Regions from separate parts of the Homo sapiens genome. Here all the other regions are linked to region 4. Evidence: promoter capture Hi-C in human tissues and cell types (Jung and others, 2019). All regions are on one chromosome and are shown on one strand. Each heading gives the region's core, a stretch centred on a gene start or on the middle of the fragment in contact. The rest is flanking DNA. Distances are from core to core; before and after follow the strand shown. Region 1 holds the start of ZFYVE28 (zinc finger FYVE-type containing 28). Region 2 holds the start of ZNF141 (zinc finger protein 141). Region 3 has its middle 68 kb from the start of ZNF732. Region 4 holds the start of UVSSA (UV stimulated scaffold protein A). Region 5 overlaps ZNF732 (zinc finger protein 732).

What was found. Contacts are between HindIII fragments. The study calls those that stand out against the background at their distance.
Region 1: a contact is called between the fragment with the promoter of ZFYVE28 here and the fragment with the promoter of UVSSA in region 4, in 1 of the 25 tissues and cell types used here (mesenchymal stem cells).
Region 2: a fragment that was not itself captured here is called in contact with the fragment with the promoter of UVSSA in region 4 in 1 of the 25 tissues and cell types used here (lymphoblastoid cells).
Region 3: a fragment that was not itself captured here is called in contact with the fragment with the promoter of UVSSA in region 4 in 1 of the 25 tissues and cell types used here (lymphoblastoid cells).
Region 5: a contact is called between a fragment that was not itself captured here and the fragment with the promoter of UVSSA in region 4, in 1 of the 25 tissues and cell types used here (lymphoblastoid cells).

The regions. Positions count from the first base shown.
Region 1 is chr4:2,417,171-2,421,835 of GRCh38, forward strand. ZFYVE28 (zinc finger FYVE-type containing 28) reads right to left here and starts at 1,475. Exons shown (of 13, transcript NM_020972.3): 1 at 1,115-1,475. The coding sequence starts at 1,153. CFAP99 (cilia and flagella associated protein 99) reads left to right here and starts at 1,785. Exons shown (of 16, transcript NM_001193282.4): 1 at 1,785-1,923. RefSeq lists an enhancer at 1-194 and silencers at 1,200-1,359, 1,480-1,709, 1,950-1,999. The HindIII fragment of the contact is 18,624 bases long and covers 1-4,665 here.
Region 2 is chr4:337,718-343,029 of GRCh38, forward strand. It overlaps ZNF141 (zinc finger protein 141), which reads left to right and starts at 97. Exons shown (of 4, transcript NM_003441.4): 1 at 97-269. The coding sequence starts at 267. RefSeq lists an enhancer at 1-802. The HindIII fragment of the contact is 3,033 bases long and covers 2,010-5,042 here.
Region 3 is chr4:234,668-239,561 of GRCh38, forward strand. It overlaps the pseudogene ZNF876P. Among named protein-coding and RNA genes, the nearest start is that of ZNF732, 68 kb to the right of the region's middle. The HindIII fragment of the contact is 5,262 bases long and covers 375-4,894 here.
Region 4 is chr4:1,345,954-1,350,589 of GRCh38, forward strand. UVSSA (UV stimulated scaffold protein A) reads left to right here and starts at 1,255. Exons shown (of 14, transcript NM_020894.4): 1 at 1,255-1,807; 2 at 2,137-2,236; 3 at 3,571-3,901. The coding sequence starts at 2,139. RefSeq lists enhancers at 1-18, 1,864-1,943 and silencers at 314-403, 624-953, 1,194-1,633. The HindIII fragment of the contact is 13,201 bases long and covers 1-4,636 here.
Region 5 is chr4:271,222-276,387 of GRCh38, forward strand. ZNF732 (zinc finger protein 732) reads right to left here. Exons shown (of 4, transcript NM_001137608.3): 4 at 1-1,409. Among named protein-coding and RNA genes, the nearest start is that of ZNF732, 32 kb to the right of the region's middle. The HindIII fragment of the contact is 6,139 bases long and covers 1-5,166 here.

The DNA.
Region 1 (4,665 bases), core at 225-2,724, 1.1 Mb after region 4:
CCCACTCCCGCCCTTGGTCGCCGCGGTGACCCCACCCGAGCCGTGACCTCCCCCAAGATCTCAGGGCCCGGGCCTCCCCGCTGCGCCGGCCCCAGGGTGCCACCCTCGGACGCCCAGATGCGCCCTGGACCCTGCGCCGGGATCCTGAACACCGCCGCGCCTTCATCCCGCGCCGAGCGCGCCCGGCCCTGCTCCGGCTGCAGCGGGCACGAGCCCCAGGCGGGCGGCGGGGACGCAGCGCCCGCAGTGCGACTGGCGCAGCCGCTGAGGCACGGGGCGCGCCGCCCGGACCCCGACCCCGCGGCGCTAGGAGAGGCGCGGGCGCCGGCTGGAGAGCCGCACCTCCCGCCCCGCCGAGGCTGCTGGCCACGGGCGCGCTCGCCCCAAGGGCCGGGCGGAGGACCTGTCCCGGATTCCAGAGGACGTGGGTGGGGAAGGGACAAGGATAGGGACAAGGGAGGGGACGCGAACTGGGCCGAGGTGTGGGTCAGTCCTGGTTCGGGAAGGGAGGCCGTTGGCAGGGCCATCAGGATCCTCTCTGGACATGGAAGGACGGGTCTGCCCTGGACCCAGGGATTGGGAAATGTGGGTTCTCTCAGAACCTGGGGAAGTGGGGAGAGGGTCTGTTCTGGAGTGCGGAGGGAGATCTATTCCGGGCCCAGGACAATGGGGGTGGGGGCAGGACGGGAATGAGGGGGCATTCCTGGTGCAGGGAGGGGAGACGGAGAAGTAGTAGGGGGTCTGCTCCGGGCCCGCGGGCTGGGGACCACGAAGTGTAGGAGGGCACCGTCCAGGACCGGGATGAGGAGGGAGAGGGGCCCGTTGTGGCCCTGGATAGAGGGGGAGGGAAAGTGCGCCCCGGCCCGAGAGGAGGAGCAGGAGGGTCAGTCCTGGACCCGGGCTTAGGAAGCCGGGAGGGAGGTTCGGATCCGCCTCAGAGACAGGGCGATGAAGATCTGTCCAAGTCTTGGAGTGGAGGGAAGGATGTCGGCGGTGGGGGAAGAGGCCGGCCACGGACAGGGAAAGGGAGTCCGTCTTGTAGGGCGGACGGGCGGTCCTGGGGAAGGGAGAGGCCGCGACGCGGGGGGCGTCCGGCCCGAGCGGGGCCGCTCACCTTGGGTTTGTAGAGCCACTTTCGGAACCTGTTCATCATCGCCGCGCCGGCCCTGGCCGGACTCCGGGCGGCCCTCGCCCTCCGCAGCGCTGCGCCCGGGCCCGGCTGAGGCGCGGGGCGGACGCGGAGGCACGGCCGGAGCCCCCGCGCTGTCGCAGGGAGGCTGGCTAGCGAAGCCCGGAGCGCCGAGCGGGCGGCGGGCAGGTGCGCGGGGCAGGTGCGCGGCCCTGAGTATGCTCTGCAAGCGGCGCGCCGGGCAGACCTCAGACCCGGGAGTGGGCGCTCGGGCGCACGGACAGACGCGGGCACGGGGGCGCGCGGCTCCTCGCTGCTCACTGACACCCAGCGCTCCGCTGGTCACGGCCGCCCCGCGCCGCACATGCGCCTAGGGCGCCGCGAGCCCCGGGCCCACCGCGCGCTGCGGGCGGGGCGGGCGGGGCGGAGGCGGCCCAATCCCTGCGCGGGCGCCGCACCCCGCCCGAGGCGCGCTCCCTGCCGGCGGGGCGACCCGCCGCGCCCGGGTATCCAAGAAACTACAAGTCCCGAAAGGCATGGCGGGGAGGTGGCGCCCAGGGCTTGGCGTCCCGGGCCGCGCCGCGGCGCTGTGTATTGTGGGAGTTGTAGTCCACCCGATGGCGGCGGAGCGTGCCGCCGGTTGCTAGGTGACGACGCCAAACAGCCGCGGCGTCCTGCCTACCGGGAGCTGACGGACGACGACTGCCAACACCTTAGCCCCAGCTGGCCCAGGAAACTGCTGCGGTGGCAGGTGGCGGCGGCAGGAGGGCTCGGCTGCCCCGAGCGCCCGCCAGGTACGGGGGCGGGACAGGTGCGGGGCGACGCGCCGCCGATTTTCATGACCTGCCGGCCGGTTCCCTCTCGCTCGCTGCTCATCTTGCTTCTCCCAAACACCTCTTCTGTCTTCTTCCCAGCTCCCCGATGAAAGTGAACGGTGCCTCTTTTTTTTTTTTTAAATCACCACTATCAGCGGTGCGTTCTAAAAAGATACTCTTCCGCCCTCGCTACTCCCCCCAGTGGTGCCCTAATTTGTACCTTAAAACGCTCACCTCAATCTGAGTACCTGCTATGTGTCAAGCAGAGAGCTAAAAACCCACACGTGGCCTCACTTAAACTTCCCATTGACAGCCAGAGAAGCAGGCACAACGAGGCCGGCGTGCCCTGGCTGTGGGGGTTGCATCCAGATCACGGCGGATCTGGGTCGGCCTGACCCCACAGCGCTGCACTTTTCCCTGCCGCACCACCACCACGTCTCTGGCTTGTTGTGAAACGTGCAGATGTAAGACACAGGAGATGGAAGTCATGCCCCCCTCGGTTCAGAATTGAGAAGTCTGACCTGTTCCTGCTTGTCCTCACTGGCCAGTGCCAGGTGCTCAGAAAGGTCCGTGGGCTCCATGACCACTTTATTCCAACAGACGCGATGTGAGCCTAGGCGCGCTGGCATCTAAGATTTCTCTTAGTTGGGGGTAGGGTCCATGTTTATTTTTGAGTAACTGATTGATTTTCCCTACTCTCCTCTTCCTACCACCCAGTCGACCCTCTGAAGGGCAAAACCCCTCTGGAGTTTCCCCTTATCTCCAATTCCTTCCCACTTGTTCTTTCTGGAAACTACTCCCATCAGATTTTCACCCAACCACTCCTCTGAAGCTCTTTATCAAAGTCATCCTTGACCTTGATGTTGCAAAATCCGATGATCGGGGTCAGCGCTCATCTCTTCCTTGAACTGTCACTACCACGTGACCCAGCCGACTGTGCCCTCTCCGTGACACAGCATCCTCACTTGGCTGAAACAGATCCCACTGTCCACTTCTCCTCCTCGCTCCTGGCCACTCCTGCTTGATCTCCTTGGCTGGATGCCTCCCCTGCTCACCGACCTCTCAACACTGGAGACCCTGGACTCAGTCCTTGGAACCTACTCTATCCACTCCCTCCCTGGGGGATTTCCTACAGTTACATGGTTTTATAAACAACCATTTTCTCCCAAACTTCTCAAAACCTATATCTCTAGCCTCAACCCTGAAACTCCAGACCTGTTTACCTGTTCTTCACCATTTGGACGCCTAACAGATCCTCTCAAATTTAACGTGTCCCAAACCACACTCTCAGTCTTCCCCCATAAAACCTGCTGCTCCCAAAGCCATCATTTCTTCAGCACAGGATCTTGGGGTAGACACTTGATGGGCTTGTCCACTGAGTGAATGGCTGTTCTCTGTGGGTCTATCCTTGGCCAACTCCAAGGCCTGGAGCAGTTGTATCTGCTCAGAGGCTCCCTTCCTGTGTTTTATAGTTTGAAATTGTGCATGGGATGAAGGCTGAACTTGGGGAAGTGGGGTATCAGTTAGGTTTAGCTGCATGTATTGAAAAATCCCAACATCACAGTGGCCTAAACAAGAATATTACTCATATTTTTATAAAAGAGGTCCATGGAGAGGCAATCGTGGTTGGTATGGCAGCCCTAAAGTCCTCAAGGATCAGCTTTTCTATCTGCCATTCACGTTTCTTCATGATCCAGGATGGCTGCCCACATTCCTGCCATCACCTCCTCGGCCCAGGAACCAGCTGCAAAAGAGAAGATGGATATGCCTCTCTCGTTCAGGGAGACTTTCCAGAAGTCTCACACCTTTCCACTTCTTGAAGGTGGTGGGAGAACTTAGCCACACAACCATGCCCCAGCTGCCAGGGAGGCTGGGAAATGCCATCTTTCAATTGGGCAGCAGTAGACCCAGCTAAAAATCAGAGTTTTCTTATTTGGGAGGAAAGGGGTAGTGGAGATTGAAAAGCAACTAGCAAAAGCTGCCACGTGGGGTTGTGCTTTAAGCACAAGCCATAGGGGCATGACTTGGTAGCAACCCTTAGGAGACTGGCTTTAATCGGGAGAAAAGACTATATTTTAATTAACATACATTTGAGATCTTAGGTAAATGAGTTATCTCCTAGTGGTTGAGAGTGTTGAGCTGTTTTGTGTCTGATGGAATTTAAACCTCCTCATATAATCTCATTTGTGTCTATAAAATATTTCCTAAGGAAAGAGAAGCTTTAGTCTGCCCACCCTTTTTTTTTTTTTTTTTTTTTTGAGATGGCGTCTCGCTCTGTCGCCCAGGCTGGAGTGCAGAGGCACGATCTCAGCTCACTGCGACCTCTGCCTCCCGGGTTCAAGCAATTCTCTGCCTCAGCCTCCCAAGTAGCTGGTATTACAGGCACCTGCCACCACGCCTGGCTAATTTTTGTATTTTTAGTAGAGATGGGTTTTCACCATGTTGACTGGTCTGGAACTCCTGATCTCAAGTGATCTGCCCGCCTTGGCTTCCCAAAGTGCTGGGATTACAGGCATGAGCCACCGCGCCCAGCCTAGTCCAGCCCACCTTTAAAGTTGCCTTAAATATAAGATAGTCAAGTCCTGATCAATGGAGTTAAAATCAATATGAGAAAAAAATCTTTAAACTTGAGAATTAAATCCCACTTCCCACATAGATGGTACTTCACTATTAAAGCTGAACTTTGGAATGCTCAGGTGGGAGGATCGCTTCAGGCCAGGA
Region 2 (5,312 bases), core at 2,276-4,775, 1.0 Mb before region 4:
AGATTGGAGCCGTATCCAATCAGCGCACTGGAGTGAAAACTGCCCAATCAGGCACGCAGCCAGAGAGGAGGCGGTGGCTTCCGGGATGTGGCGCGGGTCTTTGCGTCTGGCTACTACCAGACCGCGGGTTAGGGGCTTCATCTCTCTGCGTTCTCAGTTGTGGGAGGCCTTGGTGATTCGGCCACAGCTCAGCCTCCGTCGCTCTGTGACCTGCGGGTATTGGATGATTGGTAGCTAAGACTCCCGAATACTTCAGAAGTGGGGAAATGGTGAGTGTGCGGGGCAGGGCGTCCCAAGGCTGAGGAGGTCTCATCGGAGCTGGCGGGAAATGGCGGCGGGACCGAGTCTGCGAACGGAGTCCCCGCTGCCGCCGCTCAGCCCTGGGGCCTCAGTACCCTCCGGTGAGGGACCTGGGCTCCTGTCGGTCCCCGCACAGCGGCTCTGGCCCAGCCTGCAGCCCTCCTTGTGCAGCTCTGCGCCCGCAGCCCCGCACCTTCCCCAGGCTGTGGGGTGAGGAGTAGCTTATCTGGAAGCCGCCCGCGCGGCGTGCGCGATGCCGGCGTGGGAGGAGCTGTGGGAGAAGCTGTGGTCTGGGGATCCCGTCCCTGCTTTACCCTGTTCGGAATGAGATCGAGGCCCCATCAAAACAGAGTTCATGTGAGCAAATGGGGACTCATTAATGGGACAGCGCCGGCCGTGGCTCGTGGTTTGGGGGCTGCCAGCGGGTCTTGAAGGAAAAGCTTTTGTGAGGTGTGTGAGGAAGCGAAGCAAATCACCCGCCCGCTCCAACTTGCCCACCAGTCTCCTTGCCCTGTGCGCCTCCTCCGCGTGGCTGTTCCTGAGTGGCATCTTTTAGAATACGCTAGTGTGGGCGCGCACAGCGCTTCGCTGAGTTCTGTGAGTAGTTCTGTCATATTATTGAACTTGAGGAGGGTGTGGGCCCCTGGTTTGTAGACAGGTGTTCAGAAATGAAGACGGGTGTCCAGAGGCAGGGACTGGCGTCTGCAGGGGGGCAGCTGCGGGAAGAGCGCTGAGCTTGTGGGGTCTGTGCTGACTCCGGGTGGTGTCGTTAGTGAGTTGTTGGACAGCCCGTTGGGGTCGGAGCATTGACTGGTGTTGAGCAAACTCCTCACGTTTCCTGTCAGAAGAAAGACATGGCTGAGCCTGGGCTGGAGGGAGTCGCAGGTGTCCGCGGGAGACCAGCCGGGTTCTGCACATGCACTGTCCTGCTGCGCACTGTTCTGTTCCTCCAGGTCTCCTCCCGGGGAGAGAGGGCGCTGAGAACTTGGAGGAAAGGAGTTCTGAGAAACATCCCTTCCCTGCACCCTGCTGCCAGCCCCCACCCAATGCTAACCCACTCCTGAGCCCGCCCATTGGGCATTCGCACGGCCACACTTGTCCCAGGACAGGGTTCTACCCTCAGGAATTGTGCCCATGGCAGCTTTGCTCCTAGGTTTTTCTCCCAAGAACACACACAGTGCCCAGAAGACTCCTGGTTCATTTTAACCCCAGATCTGTAGCAGGAATCTGTTTTCTTCACCCACCCAGGCTTTTGGACCACCTGATCCTAATCTCCTCTGCCTTTATGGGCTCAGGAATCAGTTAGAGCTTAGCCCTGCCTGGGCCTGAACTTGTAGCACAAACCAGTCCTTTCGTCAATCCTGCCTTGCCCCCACTCAAGGCTCTTGATAGCACCTTTCTTCTGCTCTTTTCTTCCCCACAAATCCTCTTTCCTGTGCACACAGTTTGCTCAAGTGCATCCCTCATGTGCTACAAGAATTCAACGTTAGTGAGTTCAAGACCATGCCTTTAGACCTGCCTGTTGTAGGACCAAATACAAATCAGAAGAGGCTTAATGCTTTCTCTTTAGAATGAGGAAAGAATTTTTACTCTTCTCCCTTAAAGCATTTAGTTTGAAAACTTTTATATTTAAATATTTTCTCTGCTTCTTTGAAATATATATAACTCATTTTAATCTGTTAACTAGGTGATTTGTCTTTTTTGACTCAAAATTGTCTTTAGGACATGGAAACTATTGCTTTGAAATGTGCATAGCAAGAATATATAACCTATTCCGCAATTTCTGTAGCAGAGTAGGAGGCTGCCTTCAGCAGGTACCTGCCTTCACATATCAAATCTACCTCCTGTCCTGAAGCTGTGGGAAGTTTATTTTCCCTTTGAATATTACCAATTAGGAAACCCGGATGACCTCCCAAATTACTAGGTGAAAGTGTAATAAACTATGTATGATACATGGTACTGTCAAGTCTTCTACTTGAGAGCTAATTATGGTGACTTTCTTTGTTTTGGCAGTCTCTTAGTAGACTGCCTGTAATGCACACCACATTTTGTTTAATTCTCTAACAACACATTTTCTTGCTGTTCTATTATTTTGGACAGTATTTTAGGATTGTAGATGATTTTGCTGTTATATTTTCCACACGCTGTCAAGAATTACTAGATGTTATACACAAAGTGCCCACCAGGCTTCGTTTTAGAGAAGAACCTTCTTTCTCAGGATTCCAGTCACAACCCACAGTTGTGCAGCAAAGTGCACGAAGTGCAGCAAAGTGCTCCCCAAAGCTGCAAACAAAATGATCTCTCTATTTGGGATCTACAATCCCTTCTATAGCAGTTTGACTAGATTTCTACAAAAATGACTTTTTAGGATAGCGATCAGTTTTTCCACCTCTTTCAGTGTGCCAATGATCTTCAGATCTGACACTGATTCAGAAATCATGGGGCCCATAAATCCAGCGAGGTTCACACATGTGCATTGATTAAACCTGAGAACTTCCATTCTCTCCCTTCTCCCCTTGCCCAAATGCCCACAAATGTGCTTACCAGCCCTCCAAGTCTTAAATGTGCAGTTCCAAATTCTGAGTTTATGTCCTGGGATTTGAGAGAAGAACAGAACTTTTGTTTGAGAAATACAAGTTCTTTTAATTACGAGACCAAGTGATGTGTTAAAATGAGACCACAGTCCTACCGTTCCCCTCTTTGAACTGTTTGTCTTTTGAAGTTGTTTGCTATTGCCACAAGTGGATATAAATTAACCTAATAATGCCATACTGGACACTATAACCCACACCTTATAGCTTAACAACGTACATAGCCAATCACTAACCAATGTTACTTCTATAAACCAATAAGAATTTCTGACAGCTTTCTATCAGTTCCGTCTGCCTTTCTTTTTGCCTTTAAAAATATACTTGTAACTGCTTCTAATTGGAGTGTATATTCAGGGCAGCTTTATAGTCCAGGGTTGCAATCTTCAAGCTTTGGCCCAAATAAACTCTCTTCTTATATTATGTTTACCCCACCTTTTTCCTTTTAGGTCAAAAAAACATTTTTCTTTTTTTTTTTTTTGAGACAGAATCTCGCTCTGTCGCCAGGCTGGGGTGCAGTGGTGCGATCTCGGCTCACTGCAACCTCCGCCTCCCAGGTTCAAGCAATTCTCCTGCCTCCGAGTAGCTGGGATTACAGGCGCACGCCACCATGCCCGGCGGATTTTTTATATTTTGTAGTAGAGATGGGGTTTCACCATATTGGCCAGGCTGGTCTTGAACTCCTGACCTTGTGATCCACCCGCCTCAGCCTCCCAAAGTGCTGAGATTACAGGCGTGAGCCACCGTGCCCAGCCTGTTTTGTGAGTTTTGATGCCATTATGTGAATGGCTATTCATTGACAGAAGAGAAGTTGTTATTATTTGTATTGTGTTTACCTTGCTAAGAATAAATATTTAGCTTCTAATATAATTGTTCTAGAGAAACATAAGGGTTTTGGTTAAATTCCTTGTTACTGTATGTTATACAAAAGACAGAGAAGTGGCTAAAATAGATTAAAATTTCACAAATTCTGGGAATCAAATTTCTCTTGGGCAGGCTTAGAAAAGACAAAACCGAAAGTACTTAGTGACATAGAGAGCAGAAGCCTAGGGCCCACTTTCTGTCCCATCCCTGCCCAGATCTACCCTCTTCTGATCCTTGTCCAGGTCTGAGCCAACACTGAAATCTCTCACAGAACTGATTAATAGAGGAGATCAGAGTTTAGGGTGGCTACTCCAGTCTCCTCTCCAGAGCTGGTGCCCACAATTTTCTGAAACCCAAAAGCCAATAAATAGGGAAAAGCTATATACTTTGGGGCCTTAAATCTTTTCTATAAAATTAAAACTAATGTTTCTAGAGACATCCCACCCAGCAACCTGTTCTCTATCCCTGCAGTTTCAGTGGCTTTTTCTTACAAGTCTCAAAGTAAATACAAACACAAAAATAAAAAAATTCCTCTGAATTGTACTTAACACTTTCTTTGGCTCTCTCCCATCTATTTATATTTAGCTATTATTCTATACATTTTTTTAAAAAGTCAGGGGAAACAGAAAGGAAATGGAAATTCTGGGCCCTGCCTTTAAATCTGGGAAGTATGGGACACCTAGTGTCTACCTCCCAGGATGTTATGAGAATTAACACACATAATATGAGCTTCCCATCACAGTGCTCTGTGACATACATCTGAGCACATATTACATGCCCCATAAAGATGGCATTAATGCAGATGCACATGTTGTTTTTCAGATACAGACTTACTCAGACATTGCCACCGTCTCCAACTTCTGTAACCTTATAGGGTCTGCAGAGAATGCCATGTTTGAAGATGATGATTGGTGGTCTTGGGATGAAAAGTATTTGTGTTGTGATAACGGTGTTGGGGTAAGGGACTCTGTGTGCTGTGTCTGCTTTCTCTAACTGAGTGGTACTATAATGGGTCTAGAGGGAGGAGCGTCAGCATTAACAGGAGACTTGCTGTAAAAAGCTAATTCATGGACCCTTTTCAAACCTGCAGAATTTTGTTACTTACAGTGAGGCCTACAATATCAAATAATGTATATGTACAATGAAGCTTGAGAGGCAGTGCTTAGCTAAGTGACTCTCAGCCCAGTCTTCCAGTAGGATCACATGGACAGTTTGAAGAGAAACCATCAGCTGTGTTCTGCCCACAGATCCTGTCCATTGTTCTGGGTGAAAAGTCCTTATTTATTTTATTTTTGATTGTTGTTGTCCCAGATTTATTGAAAATAATACAGCACTACAGAAAAAATTCAAACAGGTCCCCGAGGCATTTTGAAATTCATCCCAACTGTAGGCTGAGTGACCTGAAGGTTGAACAGACTGCCGAAGTCCAAAAGCTTCAGCATTTCCTTAGTGTCAGGATCTACTTCAATTATCTCCTGATCCAAGGCTGAGACCTTATTTTTTAAAATCAGTTCCTTGCGTGGTTAAAAAAGTATTAAAAAAGTTCCTTGCATGATTAAA
Region 3 (4,894 bases), core at 1,756-4,255, 1.1 Mb before region 4:
TCCCTGCATGCACACATTTATAAGTCAGAGCTGTCCTGCCTGGGCCAGTATCTGTAGCACTAACCAGTTCTTTCACCAACTGTGCACCAACCCTCACCCATGGGTTCTTGATAGCACCTTTTCTATTCTGCATTTTTCCCCCACAAACCCTCTTTCCTGTGAAGACAGTATGCCCACGGTTACCCTGCAGGCGCCTAAATTCAGACCATGCTGGAAATCAGATGTCCATGAGTTCGAAGCAGAGTTTTCAGATGTGGTTATTGTAAATATAAGTGCAAAATAGAAATGAGACTTAGTCCTCCAACTGGAAAATAAAGGAAGAGCATTTACTCTGCTCCCTTTTCTAAAAACCTTTGATTTAGAAACTTTTTATATGTAGATTACTTCTCTGCCATTTATCTTTTTTGTTGTCTTTTAAGTATCTAATTTATCTCTATTGGAGGTCTAATTTTTATTATTTTACTATGCTAACGTTGGGATTAGTTATTTTTCAAGTGTTTTGAGGATTAAAGTTTCATTATTTGAGATCTTTTTTCTTAATATAAAAATATATTACTATAAAATTCTTAGAACATCTTTTGTTACATTTCAGTTTTGATATGTTCTGTTTCTATTTTCAGTTTTCTCAAGATACTTTGTGATTTTTCTTTCTTTTTCTTCTTTACCCAGTGGTTGTTCAGAAGCATGTTGTTTAATATACACATATTTGTAAGTTTTTTACTTTTCCTTATATTGATTTCTAGTTTTATAAAATTGTGATTTAAAAAACATGATATGATTTCAATCTTTTTAAAAATGAAAAGACTTGTTTGTTTTTGTTGTGGGCCAGATTTATGATGTGTCCTGGAGAATGTTCCATGTGTGTTTGAGAAGAATATAAATTATACTGTTGGATGAAATGTTCTATACACGTCTGTTAGGTGCAGTTTTATAGTGCAATGCAAGTACATTGTTTTTTCACTAGCTTTCTGTCTGACTCATGTATTAAGTAGGGCAGTAAAGTCCCCTATTATATCTGTCTGTTTCTTTCTCCAGTTTTGTTAATATATGTTTATATATTTATGTGCTCCAATGTTTGGTACATATATATATTTAATTATGTTTTGACAAATTAGGCTCATCACAATACAATAAAATTCTTTTTTTCTGATAGATTTTTTTCTAGAAGTCTATTTAGTGTGATGTAATTATAGCCACTCCTACACTCTTTTAGTTATTATTGGCATAGAATATTCTTTTTCATCCTTGTACCATTAACCTATGTACGTCCTTAAACCTAAAATAAGTCTCTTGTGCACAGCATATTGTTGACTTTTTAAATCTATTCAGACATTTTGTGAATGTTTCCTTTTTTTTTTTTTTTTTTTTGCTTCAATAACAGAATATCCCAGAGTTCGTAATTCATAAAGAATAGAATTTACTTAGCTCAGACTCCTGGATGCCAAGAAGTCCAAGAGCATGTCATTCCCATCTGATGAGAATCACATTTCCACATCACAACATGACCAAAGGGTTGAGGATGACAGAAGGTGTACACCAGTGCTCACTTTTATAATAGACCCACTCTCATGATGACTAATACACTGTGGTAATACTGATACTAATCCTTTCATGACAGTAGAGTGCTCATGACCTAATAACTCTTAAGGGCCTCATTTCTTAATTTTCTCACAATGTCAGTTAAATTTTAACATGAATTTTGGAGGGGACGCTCAAACTATAGCAATGTGTTTTTATTGGATAACTAAATCTTTATATATTTAAATGAATTACTGATTGATAAGAACTTACTGCCATTTTCTTACTGTTTTCTGACCATTTAGTAGTTTGTTTTTTCATTGTTTCATGCTGTCTTCCCCTGTATTTTCTTGAATTTTTGTTGTTTTTGTTGTTATATGCATTCTTTTTCTTTTGTGTGTAACCACTACAGTTTTTTTTGTAATTTCCAGGAAGCTTATGTAAAACATCTCATAGTTATAAAATCTAATTTCAGATAAGAATTTAGCTTTTGGTTTGTATAGATAGGGTCTTGCTTTGTTACCCAGTGTAGTGCAGTGGTACATTCATAGCTCAGTGCAGACTTGACCTCCCCAGGCTCAAGCAATCCTCAGCCTCCCAAGTAGCTGGGACTACAAGCACATGCCACCATGTCTGGCTAATTTTTTTAGTATTTTTTGTAGAGACAGGGTTTTGCCAAGTTGCTCAGGCTGGTGTTGAACTCCCGGGCTCAAGCAGTCCACCTGCCTTGGACTCCCAAAGTGCTAGTATTACAGGCATGAGCCATCAGGCCCAGCTGCTTCTTTTTTTAAAAGACTAAATAGCTTTCTGAGATCTTTATTTAATTTTATTTATGTACTTATTTAAGAGACAGGGTCCTGCTATATTGACCAGACTAGTTTTGAACTCCTGGCCTCAAGCAAAAGTTAGCTTCTATGTATAGAAAAATTAAACAATTTTACTCCCTTCAACATAGTATTTATGTCACACTCTACATCTTTTTATATCGTATACCCTTTAACAAATTATTGAAGCTATATGTAGTCTTAATAATTTTTTCTTGTAGCTTTTATACCAGAGTTAAATGTGATTAATTCATTCACCATAATTAGTTTTATAGCCTTCTAAATTCGACTATGTATATATGATTTTCAGTAAGATTTATAATTTTGTTGTAAGTTTGGATTCCATTACAACTTAAATTCTCATTAGCATTTGTTGTAAGTCAGGTCTAGTGATTAAAACTTTCAACTTTTTTTTAATCTGAGAAGATTTTGATACTTCATTTCTAAAGAACAGCTCTGTCAGGTATCGTCTTCTTAGTTGTCAAGGTTTTTTCTTTTTCTTCCTTCATTTGCATTTTAAATATATGGTTTCACTCCTGTGTGGCTTGCATGGTTTTTGCTGGGCAATCTGCTGATAACCTTATAGGAGTTCCCTTGAATGTGAAGAATCTCTTTTCTCTTGCTTTTTTTTTTTTTTTTTTACTTTTTACTCTTTATTTTAGGTTTTGCAGGCAAACCCCAGGTAAAGGGTTTTCTTTTTTTAATTTTAATTTTTGTGAGTATGTAGGACATGTATATATTTGTGTGGCACATGAGATGTCTTGATCCAGGCATGTAATGTGTAACAATCACATAATCAAAAATGGGGTATATCCATCCCCTCAAGCATTTATAATTTGGGTTATAAACAATCCAATTATGCTCTTTTAGTTATTTTAAAATGTGCAACTAAATTATTATACTCATACTGGGTATTACTCATTCTTTCTTTTTTTTTTCTTTTTTGTTTGTCTTTGAATTTTGGCAGTTTAATTATAATGTGTTCTGGACAATTTCTGTTAGATTCTTCTTGCTATAGACATTTTGAGCTTTTAAATTTAATATCTATATTCCTTCCAAGATTGGGAAGAATTTAAGACATTATATCTTTAAACAATTTAAAAATTTTTTTCTTTCTCATGAACCTCCTAAAATTGTACATCCTTACCATTGATTATGAAATATGGGGGACAAATGCTTTATTCACTCGCATTCTTTTTTTAAATTCTAACTAGGAACTTTCAAATAACTTTTACATTTGCTGATTTTTTTTTTCCTGTATAACGGAGTCTCCTGTTAAAGCTTTCTCTTAAATATTTTAGATCTCCTATTGTGTACTTCAGCTCCAGCATATCTAACTGGTTCTGTTTTAATGGTTTCTCTTTATTATAATTGTGATTCTGTTCATACGTTGTTGCAAAAAAAATTTAGTAATGTGTGGTTTTTTTGCATCTCATTGAGATTCTTTAAGATAATTATTTTGAATTCTTAGCCATTTTTTAGATCTGTGTTTTACTGTAAGTGGTTACTAGAGAATTTTTAGTTTCTTTTGGTGGTGTTACATTTGCCTGATCTTTCATGGTCTGTGATGCCTTGTTTTTATGTCCTTGCATCTGAAGGAGTAAATATCTCTTGCAGTCATTATAGATTAGTTTGGGGTGGTAAATATTTTCTCCTATTGGATCTCTGTGCTGATGAGATTTCCAGTGAGTTTGCAGTAAGGTGCATTGGATCTGGATCACAGTGAAGTTCATGCTTGGCAGACCTGTTATTAGGGCATCAGACTGTTGTGGATTCTGTCTATTTTCTAGGAAGACTGAACTTTCTTCAGGATCTTGATCAGTAAGACTGGTGCTGAGAAAAAAAAGTCTCCAGTTGTATATGCAGATGACAGAGCTGATATAATCCATGTGAGCAGGTATGGCTTCTGCTGTGTGGCTCTTGCTGGGTTTTTAGAAATCTTCTAACCCAGTCATTGGACAGATTCCTAGATGAGAAGTACTGACCCTTGGTCACAGCTGAGAGGGTGTGGAACTGATTCATAGGGCTGCTTCAGGATACACAGCTGAGACCAAAGTCTTCAGGTTTGTTTCTGGGTTCACGGCATTTCTCCCTCCAGATTCCTGGGTGGGCAGGACTGCTCCCAGACTTTAGTTGACAGGGACTGGAGGTAGGTTTTGGGACTGGAGGTAGGTTTTGGGACTGGAGCTGGGTTTTAGGACTGCTTCAAGATTCACAGTGGGAATAAAGTCAGCCAGCATGCCTACAGGGGCACATATAGGTGTGTTTTTTGGCAGGTCCCAGGTTAGGAAAAACTGCTTCTGGACTTTGGTTTCATGGACTGGGAGCCAGATGATAGTGCCACATCAAGATCCACCATTAAATAAATATCGGCAAGCCTACATCCAGGGGCACAGATGGATGTTTCTGTCGGTTCCTGCATGTGCAGGATTTCTTCCACATCATGATAGATGTGTGCAAGGGGCTAATTAGGAGACTACAGAGAGGAGCAACATCTAAAGTCCTTTCACCTGAGACACAGGACATTATGAATCCTCCTTGGTGTCTTGGCA
Region 4 (4,636 bases), core at 5-2,504:
TGCACAGGGCAAGGGGCGCTGAGGGAGGGTCTGGCTGCAGCTTGCTCAGTGAAGCAAGAGGCAGGGTGAGGAAGGGGTGAGGCGGAGGAGCGGCTCGGGGCTGGCTGCAAGCTAGGAGCTGGGAGCCACTGACGCCCAGGGACAGAAGCTGGTGCTGCAGAGAGGGGCGGCGCAGGGAGTCCCTCTTCTTTTCCTTTTTAAAATAATTGCTTTACTGAGATATAACTCACACATCCTGAAACCCACCCTGTAAAAACACGATTAACAGAGTTGTGAGCTACCACCACCGTAATGCAAGGGCACGCCCATCCCCCCGAAAAAGAAACCCCGGCCCGCCGCCGGCGGCCCCCGCCCTGCACCCAGCCCCGGGAGCCCAGTCGGGCGTCTGCTCTGCGTGGCCTGTGCCGGGCGCCCCGCGAGTGGGGTCCACACCACGCTCCTCCGAAGCCACGGTTTCCCAAGCGCGGTCTCCAGGTCCGTCCGTCCGCAGCCGACCTCGCACTCCCCTGCGTTCGAGGCTGCGGACTTCGGCGGCAGGACGGACGGCGCCTCTGCTTCTCATTCCGCCCAGGGCCAGCCCGGGCCCAGGGGTACCTGCTGTGCGTCTGGCGCCGAGGTGGGCCCCGAAGACCCCCAAGCCCGCCCAGGGATTCCCTTCCCGAGGCCGGAGCGGGGAGGCGCCGCGGGGTTCAGGGCGCCCTGCGCGGGGCGAGCTCGGGGGCGGGGGCCCGCGCCCGCCCGTCTGGGCGGTCCTCACCGGCCCTCTGCAGGTGAAGGGACCTGGCTGCGAGCCCGCGGGCGGGCGTGGCGTTGAGGCCCAGACCGGAACTTCCTTTCGGCCTCAGTTTCCCGGCCGGCCCCGCCCCCGGCGCCCGTACATGCGGCCCCTTTAAGGACTTTCTGCGCCCTCCCGCCTCTTTTTTCTCGTGCGTCCCCCTCCCCACCCCCGGCAGCCTGCCTCGCCCTCGCCGGGAGCGCGCCTACGTCACCGCGCAGACCTCGGCCGCGTCTTTGCGCCTGCGCCTCCTGGGCTGGGGTGAGCCATTGGCTGTCGAGCTCAGGGCACGTGCTAGGGGGCGGGGCCTTGACCGGAAAGGGTGGGGCAACGGCGAGAAAGGCCGCGTCGAGCGGTAGGTGCAGTCGTCGCTGTGGTGACCCCAGGTCCTGATGCGTCCGGCCCAGGGCCAGCCAATGGCGGTAGAGGTCTTGGGCACCTGACAAGAGGGGCGGTCCCCCCGCCGGAAGGGGCGGGGCGAGGCGAGCGGCCGCGTCAGCGGTAGGTGGGGCTGTGGTTACGCTGCCGGGCGGGGGTCGCGCCGGTTCGGTCCCCGGGGCTCTGCGGGCGCCGGGCAGAGACCTGCGGCCAGGGCGTGTCCCGTGTGCCCGAGAGCGCCGGCGGCGGGGCCGGAGGGCGGGCCCTGGGCCGAGTGACAGGCCGCAGCCCCCCGAGCACCGTCGAAGCCGGCGCGCCCGCCCGGTGCAGCCGCTGTGCGAGAGCGACCCCGCGGTCCAAGCCTCGCGTGGCCCTGCCGGGCCCCTTCTTTCCCCGAGTAGGGCGCAGCTTCCCAGCCTCCGCCCCGGCCTCGCCTGGCGCTTCCTTCCGGGTCCTTCGGCCTTTCCCTGGCGGTGCGGCAGGCCCTCGCCTCATCCCACCAGGCACGCCGCGGTGCTCGGCCCTGGGTATCCGGGCAGGCTGCCTCCGTTAGGGCCGCCCCTGCTCTCCGGACGCGACTTTTCATTGGTCTCAGAATTTCTTGGCTCCTCTTGGCCTCTGCAGCCTTGCTGGAGGCTGCCCTGCGGAATCTGAGTGAATAAGGGAAACAGCAACAGTCACGTTGGGGAAAAGCTGATTCGGACAGCGCCACTGGTTCCTTTAACGCACGACCCTCAATGCAGCGTCCCACACACGGGATTGTAGAGGTCCCGAGTTTAAGGTTCACTTTTAAAACTGCAATCACCGCCGTAAAGGCCTTGCTGGACACACATATTTCCCAGAGAGGCACCCACAGATGGACCCCAGCCTCAGGGTCCTCCCGGAGCTTTCGGTTTATAGTGGAACCCAGTAAACACGTTAATAACACCGAGAGCTATAAAATACAGATGGTGATATAGCATCTCTGCCTTACTTATTTCTAGATATGGATCAGAAACTTTCGAAGTTGGTAGAAGAGCTCACAACTTCAGGAGAACCCCGACTAAATCCTGAGAAAATGAAGGAACTGAAGAAAATTTGCAAGTATGTCTTAGGGTTCAGTAACAGTAACTGACTGGCCCACTGAGCCCAGGACACACACAGGGCCCTGCCCTCCTGCCCCCACCTGGGAGAGAACCACCCGAGGGACACACCCAGGACATTTTCTCGGGGCCCTGCAGTACCCGGCTCTGACGGGTGGTCATGTTCTGGGGTCGGGGCGTGTGGCGTTGGGGACCCCACTGCTCTGTGGTTGGTGCTTCTCTTCATTCCCATTTGTGTGGTCTGGAGCACATCCTGTAGGAGTTCTTGAGTGCACAAATGTGATTCAGAGAGAAACGTGCATCTTTTTCTTTGCTGCTGGACTTTTCGAAGGGAAAGAATAGAGCTTGCTGATGGGCGAGTTGGTCCATCGCCTTTAGGGTATGTCCACCTCTGTTCACTTCCTCCAAGGAAAACGCCGGAGGGGATCTCTGCCGTCACCCTCAGGCAGCCAGAGATTCATGGGGGAAGCAAAACTTCCCCTCGGAGGGTGGAGCATAAGTCGAGGACACTGATTATTCTGTATCCTGTGTTTGTAAAATGGCAGTTTATAGATTGTTTATACAGTGATGGAGTGTTGACATTTTGATAGAAAATTTCAGGTCAGGTTTTGTGGCCTGCGCCAGGAAATCGAATTCGCAATGGTTTATGTGGGGTCAGGAGCTGGGAATAGGAGCATTCAGGAGGGGCTGGGAGATGTCCCGAGCTCTAGGCCTTCCTTCCTTCCTGCAGCAGGAGGCACCCAGCTGAAACAGTGTGCGTGCTGGGCGGTGTGCGTTGTGCCAGGCGGTGTGTGTTTGTGCCGGGCGGTGTGCGTTGTGCCGGGCGGTGTGCGGTTTGTGCCAGGCGGTGTGTGTTTGTGCCGGGCGGTTGGCGTTTGTGCCGGGCGGTGGGCGTTTGTGCCGGGCGGTGTGTGTTGCGCTAGGTAACGTGTGTTTAAAGAGCCAGATGGTTTGTGTTTCAGGCTTTGCTGTAATGCCTCAGTTGTGAACACAGCTGTAGATGATGTAGGTGGATAGATGGGCGACGTTCCAATGACACTTTGTGAATGAACACCGACATTTGAAGTGTATATGATTTTCACATTTCACCAAGTATTTTTTGTTTGTATTGACATTCTTGGCTTGTGGGCCACACAGAAACAGGCAGGGGCTGGGGAGGTAGATGTGGCCCTTGGGCAGTAGTTTGCAGACCCTGCTCTAGAAAAGGGGAGAATGAAGATGGGAAGGCAGTGGTGGTCCCTGCCACACGTGCGTGCGGCATCCATGCACGGAGAGTCTCCCCCCGCCCATCCTCTGCGTGTGGGGCAGTTGGGTCAGGCCAGCTCGCATCCCCAGGTCTTCAGAGGAGCAGCTGAGCCGCGCCTACCGCCTGCTGATAGCACAGCTGACCCAGGAGCACGCCGAGATCCGTCTCTCAGCCTTCCAGATTGTGGAGGAACTCTTCGTCAGGTCTCACCAGTTCCGGATGCTGGTTGTTTCCAACTTCCAGGAGTTCCTGGAGCTCACGCTGGGCACAGACCCCGCACAGCCTCTGCCGCCCCCCAGGGAGGCGGCACAGAGGCTGAGGCAGGCGACCACCCGGGCCGTGGAAGGGTGGAATGAGAAGTTTGGGGAGGCCTACAAGAAGCTTGCCTTGGGCTACCACTTCTTAAGACACAACAAAAAGGTAGGTGGGCCTGGCCCATTTTTTCAGAGACTGGTTACCTGACGTGAGGAGGGCAGACGATACCAGGGTGAAGATGCGCCTCCTGTTGAACCTAGCACAGCAGGGGCCTGCTTGGCCTTGCCTGAACACCCAGGCTGCCAGACCATCTGTGGGGTGTGGGAAAGAGGGCAGCATCTAGGGTCACGGCCTCCCTGAGAGGGGCGGCGCAGCTCTGAGAGGAAGAGCATAAGCTTTATGTGTGGGTGGAGCTGAGGCTGCATGTGTCATTTTTTATGTGCGTGTAGGAGACAAAGGAAAAGCCAAATCCAACTTTTCAGATGCAACGTTTTCTGTGACAGTGGCCCCTGGACTCTGGGACCTGTCCCAACCTTGCACTTTAAGGCTCCACCCGCACCCTACTATGGGCTCGGGCTGGTGCCTGGCATGATGAAACCCACCAGGATCTGCCACTGTGGCCTGAACCCAGCCTCATTGCCCAGACCCTACCGTGCCCCTTACCCCACCTGCCACGAAGGCTCAGTCCTCCCCAGTGCAATGACCCAGCCCTGCTGGCTTCCCTGTGTGCCCTTGGAGTGCCCTGTCTCCCAGGGTTCATGCTCAGGGTTTGTTTCAGACTCCTGGGTCCAGTCAGCAGCCTCTGCCTGCTAATGGAACAAGCACACTGCTCTCCTACCTGTGAGGTACTTGGGGTGAGAAGTCTCGTCACCTCTTTTAAGTTAGCAGACGTGCTGGCTT
Region 5 (5,166 bases), core at 992-3,491, 1.1 Mb before region 4:
CAGGACTCTGGAACGTCTAAATGCTTTGCCACACTCTTCACATCTATAAGGTTTCTCTCCAGTATGAATTTTCTTATGTTTACTCAGGTATGTGGACCATCCAAAGGCTTTGCCACACTCTTCACATTCGTAAGGTTTCTCTCCAGTATGAATTGTCTTATGTTTATTCAGGGCTCTGGAACATAAAAAGGCTTTGCCACACTCTTCACATCTATAAGGTTTCTCTCCAGTATGAATTTTCTTATGTTTACTCAGGTATGCAGACCATCCAAAGGCTTTGCCACACTCTTCACATTTGTAAGGTTTCTCTCCAGTATGAATTATCTTATGTTTATTCAGGTCTGTGGACCATCCAAAGGCTTTGCCACACTCTTCACATTTGTGGGGCCTCTCTCCAGTATGAATTCTCTTATGTTCATTAAGGGTTGTGAACCGACTAAAGGCTTTTCCACATTCTTCACATGTGTAGGGTTTCTCTCCAGTATGAATACTCTTATGTTTATTAAGGGTTGCGGATTGTCTAAAGGCTTTGCCACATTGTTCACATTTGTAGGGCTTCTCTCCAGTATGAATTCTCTTATGTTCATTCAGAACTGAGGACCTACTAAAGGCTTTGCCACATTCTTCACATGTGTAGGGTTTCTCTCCAGTATGAATTCTGTTATGTTTAGTAAGGGTTGTGGACCTATTAAAGACTTTGCCACATTCCTGACATTTGTAGAGTTTCTCTCCGGTATGAATTTTCTTATGTTTGGCAACATTTGAGGATGAGGTAATGATTTTGCCACATTCTTCACATGTGAAGGGTTTCTCTTCAGCATGAATTCTCTTATGCTTAGTAAGGGTTGAGGACCTATTAAAGGCTTTGCCACATTCTTCATATTTGTAAGATTTCTCTCCAGTATGAACTTTATGTTTAGCAAAGTTTGAGGATGTGGTAAAGATGTTGCCACATTCTTCACATGTGAAGGGTTTCTCTCCAGTATGAATTATCTCATATTCATTAAAGATTAAATACCATTTAAAGTCTTTGCCACATTCTTCACATGTGTAGGGTTTCTCTCCAGCATGAATTCCTTGATGTTGAGTTAGGTCTGAGAACTTCTGAAATGACTTGCCACATTCTTTAAAGTGTTTCTCTCCAGTATGTCTTATCCTACGTTGGTTTGAATTTGAAAATGTACTAAATACTTTGACATGTACATTACACTGAAATATTTTGCTCTGGATAGTTGACAAGCATTGATTAAATTCATTATAACCTCCTTTCTGCACCTTCCTTTTACAGCTTTTTCTTAATTCTAAATTCTCATGTCCACATTTCTCATATCTTCTTAATATAAGTTTGTGGAACGAATCTTCTATCCCCTGCACTGGCAAAAAGTCTTGGGTGAAATGAGAACACACAGCTGAAAGAAATAAAAATAAATTATCCTGCTTACTAGATTCATACGAATATACTTTAAAAATCTAATATATAAACTTATACAAAGTACATTAGTAAGATGGCATAACAAAATACCACAGGCCATAATTTCTTCACAGACATATATATGTAACAAACATATACTGATCAAAATGCCTTTTAGTGAAATTTATAAATGAGTTACATGCAATGCCTCAGGTAAGCACAATGCCAAGAGCCACATAGAACAGGATACAAAGTTTGTTACATTTACCAACCACAGTTCTTCCTCCTCCCCAATATAGCACTGTGCCATTAGAAGTAAACTGTCAACTCCTGTCTTCTTACTTAAAAGAAAAGAAAAATACTGACACGTATCCTTACTTCTGGCTTTTGGGGATCTTTACAAAAACTGGTTTCTGCCTCCAATAACAAAGAGTGCTGAAAGAAATGGTGATATACTTAGGAAGGACAGGTTGGGTCTGCTAAGACCAAATGTACATGTTTCAAGAGCAGACTGAAGTGCTAAATACAGACAACAGACCAAGTGATTAAAGACTCTTAAGAGGAAACATGAACAAACCCTTTTAACTAAAAAATAAACACAAAATTCTAGACAAGACACATCCTTCCAACATGTATGAGAGGTTACTATAATCCGTATCAAAGACAACTGGCTTCAGACTATGTCAGGAGAAAACAACATTGTAAAGGTTGTGATAAATAGCTTTTGGTTAATGTTCAAATAACAAGCAAATATTATAATGTATACAAAATATTAGAACATGGTCTAATTAAACAATTTAAAATTTTTCAGAAAACAACCATAAAAACAAAGATGTACAAATTTTTAAAATGTAACCTGAATAATGCTGAATCAGCTAAATGGAAACACGTACAACTAAATGTAATCAGAAAAATGAGAACATCAATGAAAACATTAAAAACAAAAAACAAATCATGAAGGTGAAAAATGCAAAATAAAGACAGAAATTTTCAAGTTAAAAAAGGATATAAAAACGGAAGAAGCTCAACAAACTTCAACAAGGTTACACACACAGATTTACAGCAAAGCACATATATAAGCAAAGTTTCAAAAATCAAACTCAAAAACGACATCTTAGGAGCTGCAAAATAAAAGTGATGTGTCATTTATAACTGTGGTCTTAAAAGATTACCAGTGAATCTGTCAACAAAACTATTTCGCAACAGAAAGAATTGGGATATTGTTAAGGTGCTAGGAAAAAAAAAAAAAACTTCTATGTGGGAATCATATAACCAGCAAAACTGTCCTAAAAATGAAGAAAGAATAAAGACCTTTCAAGATAACCAAATGCTGAAAAAGTATATTAGCACAACACGTCTTACCAAAAAAATGCTCAAGAAAGTATCTTCCAGTGAAAATAACATAATGTAAGAAAGCCAAACATAATCATATGAAAATATATAGCTTTCTGAAAAAGATATGCACATCCACAAAGTTCTGTACCACTATCATATTACAGAAAATATTGTAATTATTCTCTAAAATTTTAAAGAGGAAAGCATAAAAATGATCATAAACTGTTCATCATAATCTGGTAATAATACACAACAACAATATGATTACTGACATCAATAATGAAGTTGAGGGCAGATGTAATGAGGAGGAATTTTCAAATTCAATGGAAGTTAAGTTTTTACCAGTTTAAAATATATTATTTTAACTTAAAGAAATTTTATGTAATTCTCAAGATACCAGAAAAAAAGTATCTGTATAGATACACCAAAAAATAAGAATTAAAGGTGTATCAATACAAAAATAAAAAAGACTAAGGAAGACAGAAAAAGAAAATAAGGGACAAAGATAAAATAATCCAGTAAAACAATAAGATGAGTAAGTCTATTTCAGCAAATTATTCAAATATTTATGAAGTAAAGTTTCCATTCAAAATACATGCACCAAATAAGGGGATTGACTGCAAAAATTAAAAAACAAGATCCAACTTGCTTTTCTACAGGAGTCACTTGAGATGTAATGATTTAAAAAGACTGAAAAAGGCAAAATGAAAGAAGAGATTTCATGCAAATAACCAAATAAGAGGTCCAAATTATGTAATACAAAGTACATCTTAAGTCAAAACTGTCCTATTTCATAAAATATACTTTAAAAAGTCATAAGAAAGAAGGACATTAAACAATAATAATAATAAAGGTTCATTTACTGGGAACTAATGACAAACATGTCTATACATACGTTAATATGTGTGTGTGTCTCCCCCACATTGAGTTCCAAATATACAAAGCCAATACTCACAGAATTAAGACAAAGACAGCAATATAACTATAGTAGGATATTTAAATACCCCAGTTTCTGTAAGGAATAATGAAACAAGATAAAATATTCATAAGGAAACAGGAGACTTGAAACCAGTATTAAACTATTACGCCTAACAGAACTGTAGAGAACACTGCTCAGCAACAACTAAATACACACCCTTCTCAATACCTCATACAATATTCTCCTTGATAGACTACATGTCAGGGCACAAAAAAAGTCTTAAAGTTTTAAAATTGAAATTTTACAGATTACTTTTAATGACCAAACTGGAATGAGAGTAGAAATAAAGAAAACTAAAAAATTTACATATTTATAGAAATTAAACAACACACACTTAAGCATGCTCTTGTTCAAAGTTTGAAATAATGAGAATATCTAGACTGCTCAATATAATCTACAGATTAAATGCAATCCCTGTCAAATTTAATTAAATTATTGTAGTAATAGAAACAACAATTCCCATATTATATGGAATTAAGAAACAGTGAAGTACCCAACAATCTTCAAAAACAGAAGCAATCTCAGAGGCTTCACAGCTCCTGATTTCAAAACACATACAAATCTAAAGAATTAAAGCAATCTGGGATAGGTATAAAGCTGAACAGCTAGATCAACTAAATAAAATCTGGCAAAAATATAAACTCTCACACATGGTCACATGAAGAGTAATTTAGACACTCATAATTATTGCAGCACTGTTCCTGAAAGCAAATAACAGCAACGCATATTTCTCTCACTAAATAAATTGAGAAATATAATTTCAATTATTAAAATAATGAAATATTACTCAGTTTGTAAAAAGCAAAAAATAAACAAGTACAATAAAGATAAATCTTGATGACATTATACAACAAAAAGTCACGAAGAGACAAACTATATGAATCAACTTACACGAGATATCTAAAGCAGTTTGACTTTAAAATAAAAAACAGAATTGTTTGTGTAGAGTGAGAAAACAGAAAAAGTAGGTAGTTATATTGAGTGTTAGCTTTGCAAGATAAACATATTCTAAAAATATAGTGCATAAAATTATTAATAAAATGACTAAGCTGAATATTTAAAAATATATAAGATTTTAAATGTTATGCATTTTTGAAAACAATATATAAAAGAGATGGAGGTATGAGTTTTGGAAATTATCTTCAAATCACAAAAGTGTTACACACACACAAATATAGATTTACAAATAAATAGAGGGTAAAATTAGGAGAATTTCAATGACTACTCACCTAGGCAGGGTAAAACCACCATTGTTACACACAAACAAAATAAGTATACAACTTAAAAACAATAGGGAAACAATATGCAGAGAGATAAACACAGAGACTCTTATATTGGAAATAGATATATCACTGATCCATATTTGACTTATGCTCCACAGTCTTACAGTGTACATAGCTGAATGCTGTCATAGACAATAATAATACTAAATAAAAGCATC